Linked DNA regions of Homo sapiens: region 1 is linked to region 2. Evidence: promoter capture Hi-C in 16 types of primary human blood cells and fetal thymus (Javierre and others, 2016). All regions are on one chromosome and are shown on one strand. The core of a region is centred on a gene start or on the middle of the fragment in contact, and the rest is flanking DNA. Distances in the headings are between cores, read along the strand shown.

Evidence for each region. Contacts are between HindIII fragments. The CHiCAGO score rates a contact against its expected background, and 5 or more counts as called.
Region 1: a fragment that was not itself captured here is called in contact with the fragment with the promoter of COL5A3 in region 2 in 1 of 17 cell types (endothelial precursors); the score reaches 5.0 in endothelial precursors.

Annotation. Positions count from the first base shown.
Region 1 is chr19:9,921,823-9,929,339 of GRCh38, reverse strand. All of the region lies in intron 1 of OLFM2 (olfactomedin 2), which reads left to right. Among named protein-coding and RNA genes, the nearest start is that of OLFM2, 11 kb to the left of the region's middle. The HindIII fragment of the contact is 4,021 bases long and covers 508-4,528 here.
Region 2 is chr19:10,008,959-10,016,629 of GRCh38, reverse strand. COL5A3 (collagen type V alpha 3 chain) reads left to right here and starts at 6,126. Exons shown (of 67, transcript NM_015719.4): 1 at 6,126-6,332. The coding sequence starts at 6,245. RDH8 (retinol dehydrogenase 8) reads right to left here and starts at 3,147. Exons shown (of 6, transcript NM_015725.4): 1 at 3,030-3,147. The coding sequence starts at 3,132. RefSeq lists an enhancer at 2,357-2,526. The HindIII fragment of the contact is 8,603 bases long and covers 2,568-7,671 here.

The sequences.
Region 1 (7,517 bases), core at 1,269-3,768, 84 kb after region 2:
ATTACAGGTGTGAGCCACCGCGCCCGGCCCATGTATTCATTTAGAGAGCATTCATTGAGAGCCTTCTGTATCTCAAGCGTTGTACTATGCAACAAGCACTGGGTGGTAGTTTGTGCTTTCAAGGGGTGGAGTAGATTTAACTTCTGGAGGAGTTGAGTCTGGCTGTGTTGGGAAAAAACTTGTCATGACAGGAACATTTTATTCCCATATCTAGGGAACTCTTGTCTGAGAACATTGACATGTCCTCCCTGCCAAGGTGGAAGCCCATTCTATCTCTTTTTTTCTTTTTGAGATGGGGTCTTGCCATGGTGCCCAGGCAGGCCTCGAACTCCTGGGCTTAAGCAATTCTCCTGCCTCAGCCTCCCAAGTAGTTGGGATTACAGGTGCACACCACCTCAGTGTGTCTTGCAACTTCATCCATCCAGAGTGCAGCCACAAACCAAGAAGTCACCAGGAAAGAGCAGAGAGTAGGGAGAGTAGATTCCATGAAGACTGTATACAAAAGCTTATTCTCTTTCTCTCTTTTTTTTTTTTTTAGACAGAGTCTCACTCTGTCGCCCAGTCTGGAGTGCAGTGGCACGATCTCATCTCACTGCAACCTCTGCCTCCTGGGTTCAAGCAATTCTCATGCCTCAGCCACCCAAGTAGCTGGGACTACAGGCGTGCACCACCATGCCTGGCTAGTTTTTGTATTTTTAATAGAGACGGGGTTTTGCCATGTTGCCCAGGCTGGTCTTGAACTCCTGGCCTCAAGTGATCCACCCACCTTGGCCTCCCTCAGTGCTGGGATTACAGGCATGAGCCACTGCATCCAGCCTGGAAAAGGTTGTTCTTGTTGCTCCTGGGGACCCAGTAGACTCTCGGTCCCAGTTTACTCTTACTTTACACATAGTTCCAACAATCCTGGGCAGCTAGTAACTAGCCTTGCTTAATAGATGAGAAGACAGGTGTCATTGCACAAGAAGAAAGAAACAAAAAGGCAAAGCCAGTTCAGCCATCAAATGAAATGGCAAATAGCTTCTCACTTTTTAGGCTCTAAGAGAGTCCTGGTGAATCCCAGGAAGAATACATGATGAGCACATGGTGAGCCGGGTTCTTTTTAAATTTTATTTTGTTTTTTTTTTTTTAAGACGCAGGGTCTTGCTCTGTTGACCAGGCTAGAGTGGAGTGGTGTGACCACAGCCCACTGTAGCCTCAACCTCCTTGGCCCAAGTGATCCTCCTACCTTAGCCTCTCAAATAGTTAGGACTACAGGTGTGTACCACTACATCCAGCTAATTTTTCTCTTTCTTTTTCTTTTTTTTGGTAGAGATGGGGGTCTCACTATGTTGCCCAGGCTGGTCTTGAACTCTTGGCCTTAAGTGATCCTCTTGCCTCAGCCTCCCAAGGTGCTGGGATTACAGGCATGAGCCACAGGGCCCAGCTAATTTTTGTATTTTTAGTAGAGACAGGGTTTCACAATATTGTTCAGGCTGGTCTCGAACTCCTGACCTCAAGTGATCCGCCTCAGCCTCCCAAGGTGCTGGGATTACAGGCATGAGTCACTGCACCCGGCCCACATTGTTTCTGTTCCTAATTTCTCTAGTAATTTCTATGAGAAAGACACTGATAGAGGCACTCACTCACTCAGGAGGGACGTGACACAGTCCGCTCTGAATGGCTGTCAGTTGCCAAATTTGGGAGACAGATGCAGCCGACACATGGTACAAAGTGCCAGATGTCAAGAGTCAAGTGGGCTTCCTGGGGGAGGTGGCATTTGAGATGGGCCTTGAAGGATGAGCGAGTGAAGACTGGAGGGTGGACACAGAAGAAAGTCATTGGTCATGCTGACAAGACCTGGTGGGTTTACCCTTATTTTACATGATTCTAACCATGTTTAAAAGAGGGGAAGTTTCTGGAAATGGGAACTAGGGTAAGTGTGTGGTTGATGCCTATGGTGGGTGCAGATAGGAGAAGGGAAGTGAGCTTGAAAAGGTTGTGATCTGACTGTAAAGGCTTCGAAAGCTGGGTTAAGGATTTTAGAATTTATTTATTCATTTATTTATTTATATTTTTTTCGAGACAGAGCCTCGCTCTGTCGCCCAGGCTGGAGTGCAGTGGTGCGATCTCAGCTCACTGCAACCCTCCCCTCCCAGGTTCAAGCAATTCTCCTACCTCAGCCTCCCAAGGAACTGGGTTAACAGGCGCGTGCTACCACGCCTGGCTAATTTTTGTATTTTTAGTAGAGACAGGATTTCACCATGTTGGCCAGGCTGGTCTCAAACTCCTGACCTCGTGATCTGCCTGCCTCGGCCTCCTAAAGTGCTGGGATTACAGGCGTCAGCCACCGTGCTGGACCTTATTTATTTATTTTTAGAGATAGAGTCTTGCTCTGTTGCCCAGGCTGGAGTGCAGTGACGCGATCACAGCTCACTGCAGCCTCAAACTCCTGTGCTCAGGCAATCCTCCCACCTCAGCCACCTGAGTCACTGGGACCACAGGCGTGTGCCACCATGCCCACATAATTTTTTTTGTTTATTTTTTGTAGTGACAGGGTCTCACTATATTGTCCAGGCCGGTCTTGAACTCCTGGGCTCATAAGATCTTCCTGCCTCAGCCTCCCAAACTGCTGGGATTACAGGCGTGAGCCACTGCACTTGGCCTAGAATTTAGTGAGCTGGTAATAGTGACTCATAGAAGAGGTTGTGCATGTTTAAATGGAAGACTTTAAAAATTTTTAATTGTGGTAAAATACACATAATATAAAATTTATCACTTTAGTCATTTATTTATTTATTTATTTATTTTTGAGATGGAGTCTCGCTCTCTGTCCCAGGCTGGAGTGCAGTGGCGCGATCTCAGCTCACTGCAAGCTCCGCCTCCCAGATTCAAGCGATTCTCCCATCTCAGCCTCCGGAATAGCTGGGACTACAGGCGGCCGCCACCACGCCCGGCTAATTTTTTGTATTTTTAGTAGAGATGGGGTTTCACCATGTTAGCCAGGATGGTCTCGATCTCCCGACCTCGTGATCCGCCCGCCTCAGCCTTCCAAAGTGCTGGAATTACAGGCGTGAGCCACCATGCCTGGCCTAGAATTTCCATCCTTTTAAAGGCTGAATCATATTCCATGTATGGATATACCACATTTTGTTTATCCATTCATTCATCAATAAATAGACACTGGGTTGTTTTCAGCTTTTTTTTAAAAAAAAGTCTTAATGTTACAGAGGAGGTCTCTCTCCATCACTCAGGCTGGAGTGCAGTGGCACCATCACAGCTCGCTGCAACCTCTATCTCCTGGGCTCCAGGGATCCTTCCACCTCAGCCTCCCAAGTAGCTGGGACTACAGGTGCATGCCACCACGGCTGGCTAATTCTTAAATTTTTTCTGTAGAGATGGGGTCTTGTCATCTTGCTCAAGCTGGTCTTCAACTCCTGGCCTGAAGCAATCCTCTCACCTCAGCCTTCCAAAGTGCTAGGATTACAGGTGTGAGCCACCGCGCCCGGCCTGGTTGTTTTCACCTTTGGGCTTTTTTGAATAATACTGCTATGATCACGGGTGTACCAATATCTTTTTGAGACACTGAGTTCAATTCTTTTGTGTACGTATTCAGAAGTGGCATTGCTGGGCCAGGCGCGGTGGCTCACACCTGTAATCCCAGCAATTGGGAGGCTGAGGTGGGTGGATTGCTTGAGCCCAGGAGTTTGAGACCAACCTCAGCAACATGGTGAAACCGTGTCTCTACAACAAATACAAAAATTAGCTGTGCCTGTGGTCCCAGCTACTTGGGAGGCTGAGGTGGGAGGATTACTTGAGCCCAGGAGGTCAAGGCTGCAGTGCGCCATGATTGTACCATTGCCTGGGTGACAGGGTAAGATCCTGTCTCAAAAAAGAAAAAGTATTGCTGGGTCATATGGTAACTATGTTTTAAGTTTTTGAAGAACTACGATAATGTTTTCTACGGCGACTGCGCTATTTTACATTCCCACAAAGGGTTCCTATTTTTCCACATCCTCACCAACACTTGCTATTTTTGTCAAAAGCCTCTGACCACAACGTTTTTGTCAACTGAATAATATATAACTTTTTTTGTTTTGTTTTGTTTAGACAGGGTCTCACTCTGTCCCCCAGGCTAGAGTGCGGTGGTGTGATCTAGGCTCACTGCAGCCTCCGCCTTCCGGACTCAAGCCATTCTCCCACCTCAGCCTCCCAACACGCTGAGTAGCTGGGACTATGCACCGCCAGGCCTGGCTAATTTTTTGTAGAGCTAGGATTTCACCATGTTGCCCAGGCTGGTCTCCAACTCCTGGGCTCAAACGATCTGCCTGCCTCAGCCTCCCAAAGTGCTGGGATTACAGGCATGAGCCACGGCGCCCAGCCATAACTTTGTTTTATGTGTGTTTCTGTTTTAGAATATCATATATATATATCAATCATATCTATATATATACACGCATATATATATATATATCACATATATATTTATTTTTTGATTCATTAACATTGAACTCCCGGCCAATAGCACTAGATCTGATGCCTGAATGAAGCTTCTGTAACACGTCTTTTCTCCGTGACACACGTCACGGCCTTCTTGACTTAGAAACACTAGACTACACTTCAGCACGGTGCGTGGGGGCCACTGAAGATAGCAGAGTCACCAACAAACAGCACAAAAATATGAAAAGCTTGGCACTAAATGGACCATAAAAAAGACACTTGCATGTAGTATCAGAGCTGGAGGAAGAAAGCAGAGTGTCTCCTTATTAGACCTCAACAGGGTTGGGTGACTGAGTATGTTGTCAGGCCGGGAGCAATGGCTCACGCCCATAATCCCAGTGCTTTGGGTGGCCAAGGCGGAAGGATGGCTTCAGCCCAGGAGTTCGAGACCAGCCTGGGCGACAGAGCGAGACCTCCATTTCAAAAACAATTTTTTTTTTTTTTTTTTTTTTTTTTTGGAGACAGAGTCTCGCTCTGTCGCCCAGGCTGGAGTGCAGTGGTGTGATCTTGGCTCACTGCAAGCTCCGCCTCCCGGGTTCACGCCATTCTCCTACCTCAGCTTCCCGAATAGCTGGGACTACAGGCGCCCGCCACCACGCCCAGGTAATTTTTTTGTATTTTTGTAGAGACGGGGTTTCACCGTGTTAGGATGGTCTCGATCTCCTGACCTCGTGATCTGCCTGCCTTGGCCTCCCAAAGTGCTGGGATTACAGGTGTGAGCCACTGCGCCCGGGCTTTTTTTTTTTTTTTTTTTTTTTTTGTAGAGACGAGGTTATTGCTCTGTTGCCCAGGCTGAAATGCAGTGGTACGACCTCGGCTCACTGCAACCTCCACCTCGTGGGTTCAAGTGATTCTTGAGCCTCAGCCTCCCGAGTAGCTGGGATTACAGGCACACACCACCAAGCCCGGCTAATTTTTGTATTTTTAGTAGAGATGGGGTTTCGACATGTTGGCCAGGTTGGTCTCGAACTCCTGACCTCAGGTAATCCACCTGCCTTAGCCTCCCAAAGTGCTGGGATTACAGGCGTGAGGCACCACGCCCAGCTCTACAAAAAAAATTTGTTTAATTAGCTAAGTGTGGTGCTGCATGCCTGAAGTCCCAGCTACTTGGGAGGATCGCTTGAGCCCAGGAGGTAAAGGCAATCCCACCACTGCACTCTTTTCTTTTCTTTTTTCTTTCTTTTCTTTTCTTTTTTCTTTCTTTTCTTTTCCTTTCCTTTCCTTTTCTTTCCTTCTCTCTCTCTCTCTTTCCTTCTTTCCTTTCTTTCCTTCTTTCTTTCTTTCTTTTCTTTCTTTTTTTTTTTTTCCTGAGACAGTCTCACTTTGTTGCCTAGGCTGGAGTGCAGTGGCGATGATCTTGTCTCACTACAACCTCTGCCTCCCAGGTTCAAGCAATTCTTGTGCATCAGCTTCCCAAGCATCTGGGATTACAGGTGTGCACCCACCATACCTGGCTAATTTTTGTATTTTTAGTAGAGACAGGATTTCACCATGTTGGCCAGGCTGGTATTGAACTCCTGACCTCAAGTGATCTGCCCACCTTGGCATCCCAAAGTGCTGGGATTACAGGCATGAGCCACCGTGCCCAGCTACTCCACCCTGTTTCTAAGCAAGAAAAAAAAAATTATCACTGTGCATGTCCACAAATGACCACAAATGCCCCAGCGAGTATTGATCTTAGAGTATAAACAAATTGCAACAAGTAGGCAAATTTGCCAATCTGGAATTTTCGAATCATGAAGCTCAACTGTATATATGTAGGAGTGGAATTGCTGGGTCATAGGGAGAAACTGCTGTACAGTCTTCCAAAGTTTCAGAGACTCTTCCAAAAAGTCAACAACTCTTCCACCAGTAGTGTATGAAGTGTTCCAGTTGCTCCATATCCTCCCCAACACTTGGTGTTGTCTTTCTTTTTCTTTTCTTTTCTTTTTTTCTTTCTTTTTTTTTTTTTTTGAGACAGGGTCTCACTCTGTCACCCAGGCTGGAGTGCTGTGGCACGATCTGTGCTCACTGCAACCTCAACCTCCCAGGCTCAAGCGATCCTCCCACCTCAGCCTCTCAAGTAGCTAGAACCACAGGCATGCAGCACCACTCCTGGCGAATTTTTTTGTAGAGACGGGGTTTTGCCCTGTTGCCTAGGCTAATCTGGAACTCCTGAGCTCAAGCAATCCACCCACCTTGGCCTCCCAAAGTACTGGGATTACAGGTATGAGCCACTGTGCCTGGCCTTTTTTTAGTTTTAGACATTCTGATGGGTGCCAAATAGTATTGCATTGTGGGTTTATTTATAAATTTATTTTTGTTTTTTTGAGTCAGGGTCTGGTTATGCTGCCTAGGCTGGTCTCCAACTCCTGGGCTCAAGTGATCCTCCCACCTTAGCTTCCTAAAGTGCTGGGAACATTGTGGGTTTCATTTACATTTCCTGATGATGAGTGATGTGCCTGATGATGAATTAAGTGCCTTTGCATATGTTTATTGACAACTTGGATATCCACTTTTGTGAAATGTCTAAGTCTTTTGCCCACTTCTCTGTTCAGATGTCTGGTTTTTTCTTACTGATTTGTAGGAATGTGTGTGTGTGTGTGTGTGTATCTAGATTTTACATAGATACATATTCATATTTTACATAACTATAAAATCAGGATATGAGATTTTTATTGGACATAATGACTGCAAATATCTTCTCTGTAGCTTTTCTTTTCATTCTCTTAGTGGTGTCTTTTAATCAATAGAATTCCTTAATTTCATTTCATTTCTTTTTTTTTTTTTTGAGACAGGGTCTCACTCTGTTGCCCAGGCCGGAGTGCAGTGGTGCAATTACGGCTCACTGCAGCCTCGATCTCCCGGGCTCAAGCGATCTTCCCACCTTAGCCTGCCGAGTTGCTGGAGCTATAGGTGCACACCACCACACCCAGCTAATTTTTGTAGTTTTTTTAGAGATGGTGTTTCACCGTGTTGCCCAGGCTGGTCTCAAATTCCTGGGTTCAAACCATCCTCCCGCCCCGGCCTCCCAAAGTGCTGGGATGACAGGCGTGAGCCAC
Region 2 (7,671 bases), core at 4,877-7,376:
TGCCAGGTGTGGTGGGTGGCCCCCACCTGTAGTCCTGGCTACTTGGGAGGCTGTGGTGGGAGGATTGCTTGAGCCCAGGAGGTTGAGGCTGCAGTGAGCCGAGATGGAGCCACTGCACTACCGTCTGGGTGAGAGAGTGAGACCCTGTCTCAAAAAATAAAAAATAAGGCCGGGCGGCCTGGCGCGGTGGCTCACGCCTGTAATCCCAGCACTTTGGGAGGCCGAGGTGGGCAGATCACGAGGTCAGGAGATCGAGACCATCCTGGCTAACATGGTGAAACCCCGTCTCTACTAAAAATACAAAAAAAAAAAAAAATTAGCCTGGCGTGGTGGCAGGCGCCTGTAGTCCCAGCTACTTGGGAGGCTGAGGCAGGAGAATGGCGTGAACCCGGGAGGCGGAGCTTGCAGTGAGCCGAGATAGCGCCACTGCACTCCAGCCTGGCAACAGAGCGAGACTGTCTCAAAATAAATAAATAAATAAATAAATAAATAAATAAATAAATAAGATAAAGTTTCTGCCTTCATGGAATTTATAGCCTAGTAGGTAAGACAATAAAATATATAAACATAAAACAGATTGCCATGAAAAAAATGCATACACAACTATAGCCAACATATGTGCATATATGAACACTGAAGTGAATAGCCATATATATATATATATTTTTTTTTTGAGACGAAGTTTCACTCTTGTTTGTTGCCCAGTCTGGAGTACAGGGGTGCAATCTCGGCTCACTGCAACCTCCACCTCCTGGGTTCAAGCAATTCCCCTGCCTCAGCCTCCCGAGTAGCTGGGATTACAGGGGTACAGGTGCCTGCCACCACACCTGGCTAATCTTTTGTATTTTTAGTAGAGACGGGGTTTCACCATATTGGTCAGCCTGGTCTCGAACCTCAGGTGATCTGCCCACCTCATCCTCCCAAAGTGCTGGGATTACAGGCGTGAGGAGCCAGAGAGCCACAGCACCTGGCCAAGCTTTTATGCCCTTTTTTTTTTTTTTGAGACGGAGTCTCGCTCTTGGTGCCCAGGCTGGAATACAGTGGTGAAATCTCAGCTCACTGCAACCTCTGTCTCCCGGTTCAAGCAATTCTCCTGCCTTAGCCTCTCAAGTAGCTGGGATTATAGGCACTGCCACCATGCCTGGCTAATTTTTGTATATTTATTTATTTATTTATTGAGACAGAGTCATGCTCTGTCGCTTAGGCTGGAGTGCAGTGGCATGATCTCGACTCACTGCAAGCTCCACCCCACAGGTTCACGCCATTCTTCTGCCTCAGCCTCCCGAATAGCTGGGACTACAGGCATCCACCACCACGCCTGGCTAATTTTTTGTATTTTTAGTAGAGACGGGGTTTCACCATGTTGGCCAGGCTGGTCTCAAACTCCTGATCTCAGGTGATCTGTCCACCTAGGCCTCCCAAAGTGCTGAGATTACAGGCATGAGCCACTGTGCCCAGCCTCAAGCTTATGTTCTTAAGCAGGACCTCAGCATATGTACTATGTCTGCACATGCACCAGCATACGTGTTTGATATCCCCCAATGTGTGCACCCATAATCACCCATGAACACTCCTGGGGGCATTTGCCTCTTGTCTTCGGGTCAGTGTGATTTGTGGGTAGCAGGCACGTGAATGGGGTCACTTGCATCTACATGTGATATAGTGGGAAACATGGGTGCAAGGGATGGGCTGCCTGAGTTCAAATCCCAGCTCTGCTACTTTGCAGCTGGGAGACCTTGAGCAAAGACCTTTCACAGTCTGCACCTTAGTTTCCTCATTTCTAAAATAGGGCAGGCCAGGCACGGTGGCTCATGCCTGTAATCCCAGCACTTTGGGAGGCCCAGGCAGGCAGATCACCTGAGACCAGGAGTTCGAGACCGGTCTGGCCAACATGGTGAAACCTTGTCTATTAAAAATACAAAAACTTAGCCGGGTGTGGTGGTGCATGCCTTAATCCCAGAAACTCGGGAGGTCAAGGCATGAAAATCACTTGAACGTGGGAAGTGGAGGCTGCAGTGAGCCAAGATGCACCACTGCACTCAGCCTGGGTGACAGAGCAAGACTCTGACTCAAAATAAATAAATAATAAAATAATAATAAAATGGGGTGAATGATTGTGCCTGCCTCACGGGTGTGATGTGAGGATTAAATGACTTCCTGGATTCAGGGCACTTAGAATGCAGCTTGGTGCATTGTAAAAGCTCCATAAACATTAGCCTCCAGCAGTTTCATACACCCATCTGCCCGCCCATAGGGACACACGTTATTCCCTGCACACTGGCATTCAGGCTGTCATGCTCAAAGCTGTGTGCGTCTCTAAAACAGAGGGCAGAGGGCTGGGAGAAGCAGCCCTGCCAACTGGGGCAATGCCCTCACCCCCAGTCGCCTCTTTGTAAGTAACAACCCTTTGCCCACTTTGACTCCAGCATGCTCCCTCTGGGTCAGGGGTTCTCCTGGTTGGTTAGGATGCAGGTCCCAGGGATTTATTCTAGAGGTGCAGAAGGGCAAGTTCTTAGAACTAGAAGGCCATCCCTTCAACCCCCAAGGTCAGGAGCACTTAAGAAGCTTATCTCAGTAAAAGCAATAATCTGGGGAGACGTGGAAGAGTGAGCATCAGGGTAGTGATTATTCCAATCTAGGAAATGCCCTAGTGAAACCCTTCTAAAAATAACCCCCACCCACCCCCTGCCACTCTCAGCATGCTTTATTTTGTGTCTCAGCACTTATTCCCACCAGATAGAGCAACAATTTCTTTTTATCTGTTTATCACCCATTCTCCCTCTCCTCCCCACATGACACCCGTCCTGAGGGCTGAGATTTTTGTCTATTTCATCTCCAGTTGTGTTGCCAGCATTCAGAGCACCCAGAAGATGCTCAAGAAATATTTCTAGGATGAGGGGATGATTCCTGGAGGGAATCCTGGGTCTCCCCAAGCCCACAAGTGCAGCTGGGAGGGATGGGTAGGGGAGACAGTGCTGGGGAAGCCGTTTCCACCCGGCTGCCTCCTAGTGCCACCCTGCACTTCTTACCCTGGTAGCGCTTCTTGGGGTCATGGGCCAGTTGCACTGCAAGTTCCAGACCAATTCCTGATGAGCAGCCGGAGATCAACACAGTCCGGGGTGCAGCGGCCATGTTGATCCCCTCCCTGGACTCGTGACCTCCGCCGGGCAGCACCTGACTCTGACCATTCATCCTGGGCTCATCTGCTCCCTCCTAACCCCCTCCCACAGATCCCCTGCAGGGCAAAGCCTCTGCCCTCCCCCGGAGACCCTCAATTCTGGACTGACCCTGAACAGGCAGTAAGAGAGAATCTCTTAAATCCTCTCTGCACCTCATTTTCTTCATCTGCCAAACATTTCTTCTCCGCACCTACTATAGACATCACTGGTTTTTGTTTGTTTGTTTTTAAGAGACAGCATCTTGCTCTGTCACTCAGGCTGGAGTGCAGTGGCACCATCATAGCTCACCACAGCCTCAAGCGATCCTCCTATCTCAGCCTCCAGAGTAGCTGGGGCTACCGGCGCACACTACCATGCCCAGCTAATTTTTAAATTTCTTTTTCTTTTAGACATGGGATCTTGCTATGTTGCCCAGATTGGTCTCGAACTCTTGGCCTCAAGTGATCCTCCTGCCTTGGCCATTTGTAACTGTTTTCTTAATTTATAATTTTTATTATGACTGTAAATTATTATTATTATTTTGAGACAGAGTCTTGCTCTTGTCACCCAGGCTGGAGTGCAGTGGTGCAATTTCGGCTCACTACAACCTCAGCTTTCCAGGGTAAAATGATTCTCCTGCCTCAGCCTCCTGAGTAGCTGGGATTACAGGCGTGTGCCACCACACCCAGCTAATTTTTGTATTTTTAGTAGAGATGAGGTTTCGCCATGTTGGCCAGGCTGGTCTTGAACTCCTGACCTCAAGTGGTCCAGCCGCCTCAGCCTCCCAAAGTGTTGGGATTACAAGCATGAGCCACTGAGCCTGGCCGAGTATAAATTATTTAGGGCTGGGGAGAGTTTCTGTGAAAGTTGGGGGGAATTAGTGTCTGTATTCTGGGTGAAGAATCTCTGATTGAAGGGAGAGAGTGAGAGAAGGAGACAGAGAATGTGGATCCAGAAGTGTTTCATAGAGGGAAGGGGTGTAGAACTGTCAGAAGATGTAGTTAGACTATAGGAAGAACTTCCAGCAAGGCAGGGCAGGGCAGGAATTTTGTGAGAGTCTTTTAGTTGGAGAAGTCTCAGCCTCAGATGTCCCTGGGGTGGGAGGAGGCACAGCTTACAGAGATACCCTCTCCTCCTCCCACCCTGGGGGGCCCCCATCTCCCCCTCAGGCTTGATGGGGCCCCAACCCCTCCTCTTCAGGGACACAGAGACTCTTTGTCTGGGGAGTCAGAGGCTGGGAGGGAGGCACTGCTTGCGTCTCCCTCTTCCCCTGGGGCGGAGGTGGGGGAAGCAGGGTTCGGGGAGCAGTTCAGGGCTCAGAATACGCCTCTTGGTTCCTCCCCTCCCTGGGGAAACACCCTCACATCCTGCGTGTCTGCGCTTGTCCAATTGCATAAAAGCTCTATTTGACCTCATGGGGGCCTCTTCATGCTGGAGGTGGGGGTCCCAGCACGGTGAGGGGGGCCTCTGCCTCATCCCAAGAATGGCAAGAATCCACCCCTTCCTCCCCAGTGGCTGTGCGTTGCTTTGCGACAGGGACAGATTCCCACCACCTCCCACCAACGCGCCGGCCTTTTTTTTTGAGACAGACAGAGTCTTGCTCTGTTGTCCAGGCTGGATCGCAGTGGCACAACCTCAGCTCACTGCAACCTCCACCTCCCGTGTTCAAGTGATCCTCCCACCTCAGCCTCCCAAGTAGCTGGGACTACAGGCGCCAGTCACAATGCCTGGCTAATTTTTGTATTTTTAGTAGAGATGGGGTTTCGCCATGTTGGCCAGCTGATCTCTAACTCCTGGACTCAAGCGATCTGCCCGCCCCAGCCTCTCAAAATGCTGGGATTACAGGCATGAGCCACCGCACCCAGCTCAGACTCCCTCATTTGGTGGGGATTTGGGATTGAGGCCGGGGCATCCACTGGAGACCTGAGTTGGGGCGGGGGGAGATGAGGGTTAGGGATGGAGATGAGACCCTTTATTTGAGGAATCAAGAATTTGGGGAAAGTGAAAACTGTGTTTTGGGATCTGTGGTGAGAATTTGGGACCAGGACACGTGACTTAGGGATTTGAGTGGACAGATGAAGGTTTGGAGTAAGGCTGGGGACCCCATTTTGGGATCTGGGGTGAGATTTGAGGTGGGATGAGGACCCGTTAGGGACTTGAAGGAAAGGCTTTGGGGCTGAGGCTGGTACCTCCTATTGTGCAGCTGAGGGACTGAGGATAAAGCAGGTAGGTGAGTGAGAGTTCGGGGTGAGGTTGGGACCCCAGTTGGGGGCCTGAGTGAGGCAGAAAGGACTTGGTGCCAGGGGCGGTGGCTCATGCCTGTAACTCCAGCGCTTTGGGAGGGCAAGGCCGGAGGATCGCTTGAGACCAGAAGTTCAAGACCGGCCTGGGCAGCATAGCAAGATCCCGGTCTCTACAAAATATACATATTTTAAAATTAGCTGGGTGTGGCAGTGTGTGCCTGTGGTACCTGCTTCTCAGGAGGCTGAGGCAGGTGGATGGCTTGAACGCAGGAGTTGGAGGCTGCAGTGAGCTATGATTGCACCACTGCACTCCAGCTTGGGTGACAGATCAAGACCCTGTCTCCAAAATAAAATGTAAAAATAATAGAAAATAAAAAAGATTTGGTATAAAGCTGCACCTCCTCCTAATTCTAGGGCCTGGATGGAGGCTGAAGTCTTGAATGAGGTTAAGGTCTCCTTTGAGGGGATCTGCTAGGCGGAAAAGGTTTGGGGTAAGACTGGAACCCTCGAACTCTAGGGCTGGGTGGGAGTGACCCTTCTCCTCCACAGTGGGGTGGGGCAGGAACAACCCAGCTCCTGGCGCTGGGCTCCACCCCAGCCAGCCAATCAGCCCTCAGCACAAAGTTTCCCAACTTCCCAGTCCAGCTGTCAGCGCTCCCCCTCCAAAAAGCCCCGCCTGGCCAGGCGCTGGAGCGCAGGGCGAGGCCAGGGCGGGGTCTCGGGCAGTTTCCCGCGGACCCTGAGAGGAGCGGCCGCCGCGAGTGACTGCACCGAGCCCGAGAAGTCGCCGCGCCCCGCAGCCGCCCCGACTGGTTCCCCGCCTTGCCCGTGGGCCCCGCCGGGATGGGGAACCGCCGGGACCTGGGCCAGCCGCGGGCCGGTCTCTGCCTGCTCCTGGCCGCGCTGCAGCTTCTGCCGGGGACGCAGGCCGGTGAGCCGGGAGGGAAGAGATGGGACCCAGGGTCCACGACTCAGAGAGGCTCTAAAAGAGCGAGGGGTGGAGGGGGGTGGAGGGGCGTGGAGGGGAAGGGCGTGGGCGCCGCGTGCGGCCCCGGTGTGATGTGGGCGCATGAGTATCTGACTCTGGGTGATTTGTGGGTGTGACAGCTCGGGGTGGGGGTGGGGATGTGTGAGTGCGTTTTCTGGCGAGCGCGTGGGAATGCATGCAATGTGCAGGTGTGTGCATGTGTGTATGTGTGTGTAGCATGTGTGTGCATTTGGAGTGAAGTTGCGTATGTGCTTGCGTGTGGAGGTTGATGGTGATAGTGTGACTGTGAGTGACAGGGCAGTGCTGGGACGGTGTGTATTGCGACAGGTGAGTATGCACTTGTGCTCTTGTCTATGTGCTGATTTTCGAGGGTAACCGTGTGAGTGGTTATGCGTGTGATTGTGTGTCTCTGAGTGCCGCTATGAGGGGTGTAGTTATGATTTTTGGGTGCAAATAATTGCCCATGAGGATGAAGGTGGGTGGGGACAAGTATTGGGGGGTGCTCTTCGGGAACCCACAGTTTCCTTTGCGTCTCTTTAAATGGCTTCACCTCATTCTCCCTTTTCCTCCTCTGCCCCAAATTGGCGAGCGCCCATCTCCTCCCCTCCCTCCCTGTTGCCCCCTCCCCCACCCCGCGGTCCCCAGAGCCGCGATCAGCACCATGGACAGGGCTTCGGGGAGGGCCGCGGTGAGGGGCGAGACGGGGCGGGGCGCAGGGCGGGGCAGGAGTGGAAGTTGCTCCCCCCCTCCCCACCCCAGCTGCTGGAGCCTTGGGTGTTTTTCCCGAGGAATTTCTCAGGAGCCCCCAAGGGGTCCCGGGGGCCGCCGGATGGGTGAGTCAGCGCTGACGCACGCCCAGCTGCGCGCATCTGGCTGGGCGCCCTGTCCCGCCCCTCAGGGTTCAGAGTGGGGGGCGCTTCGGGAGTCAGGGGATGGCGTAGCTTCTCAAGTGTTGGAGATGGGGCTTCCCTGATCTGAGAGACCCTAGACTAGGTCCTCCTGGAAATCCCTTTCTAAGGTGAGCTCAGTCTCCCAACACACACACACACACACACACACACACACACACACACACACACCACAGCACACTTCTTACTTTGGAGTCCAGGAAGGTGCCTGTCCATATGGTTAATCCCTGATTGGACTATGCCGCATTCCCACGCTCACACATCCACATGGTCATGGAATCTTAGGCATCCACTCTGAATATAAGTCCCCTGGGACTCCAGGAATGTGAAACACCGTGTCCAGGCAACCCCCTTCAGCCACCCGCCAAATGGTC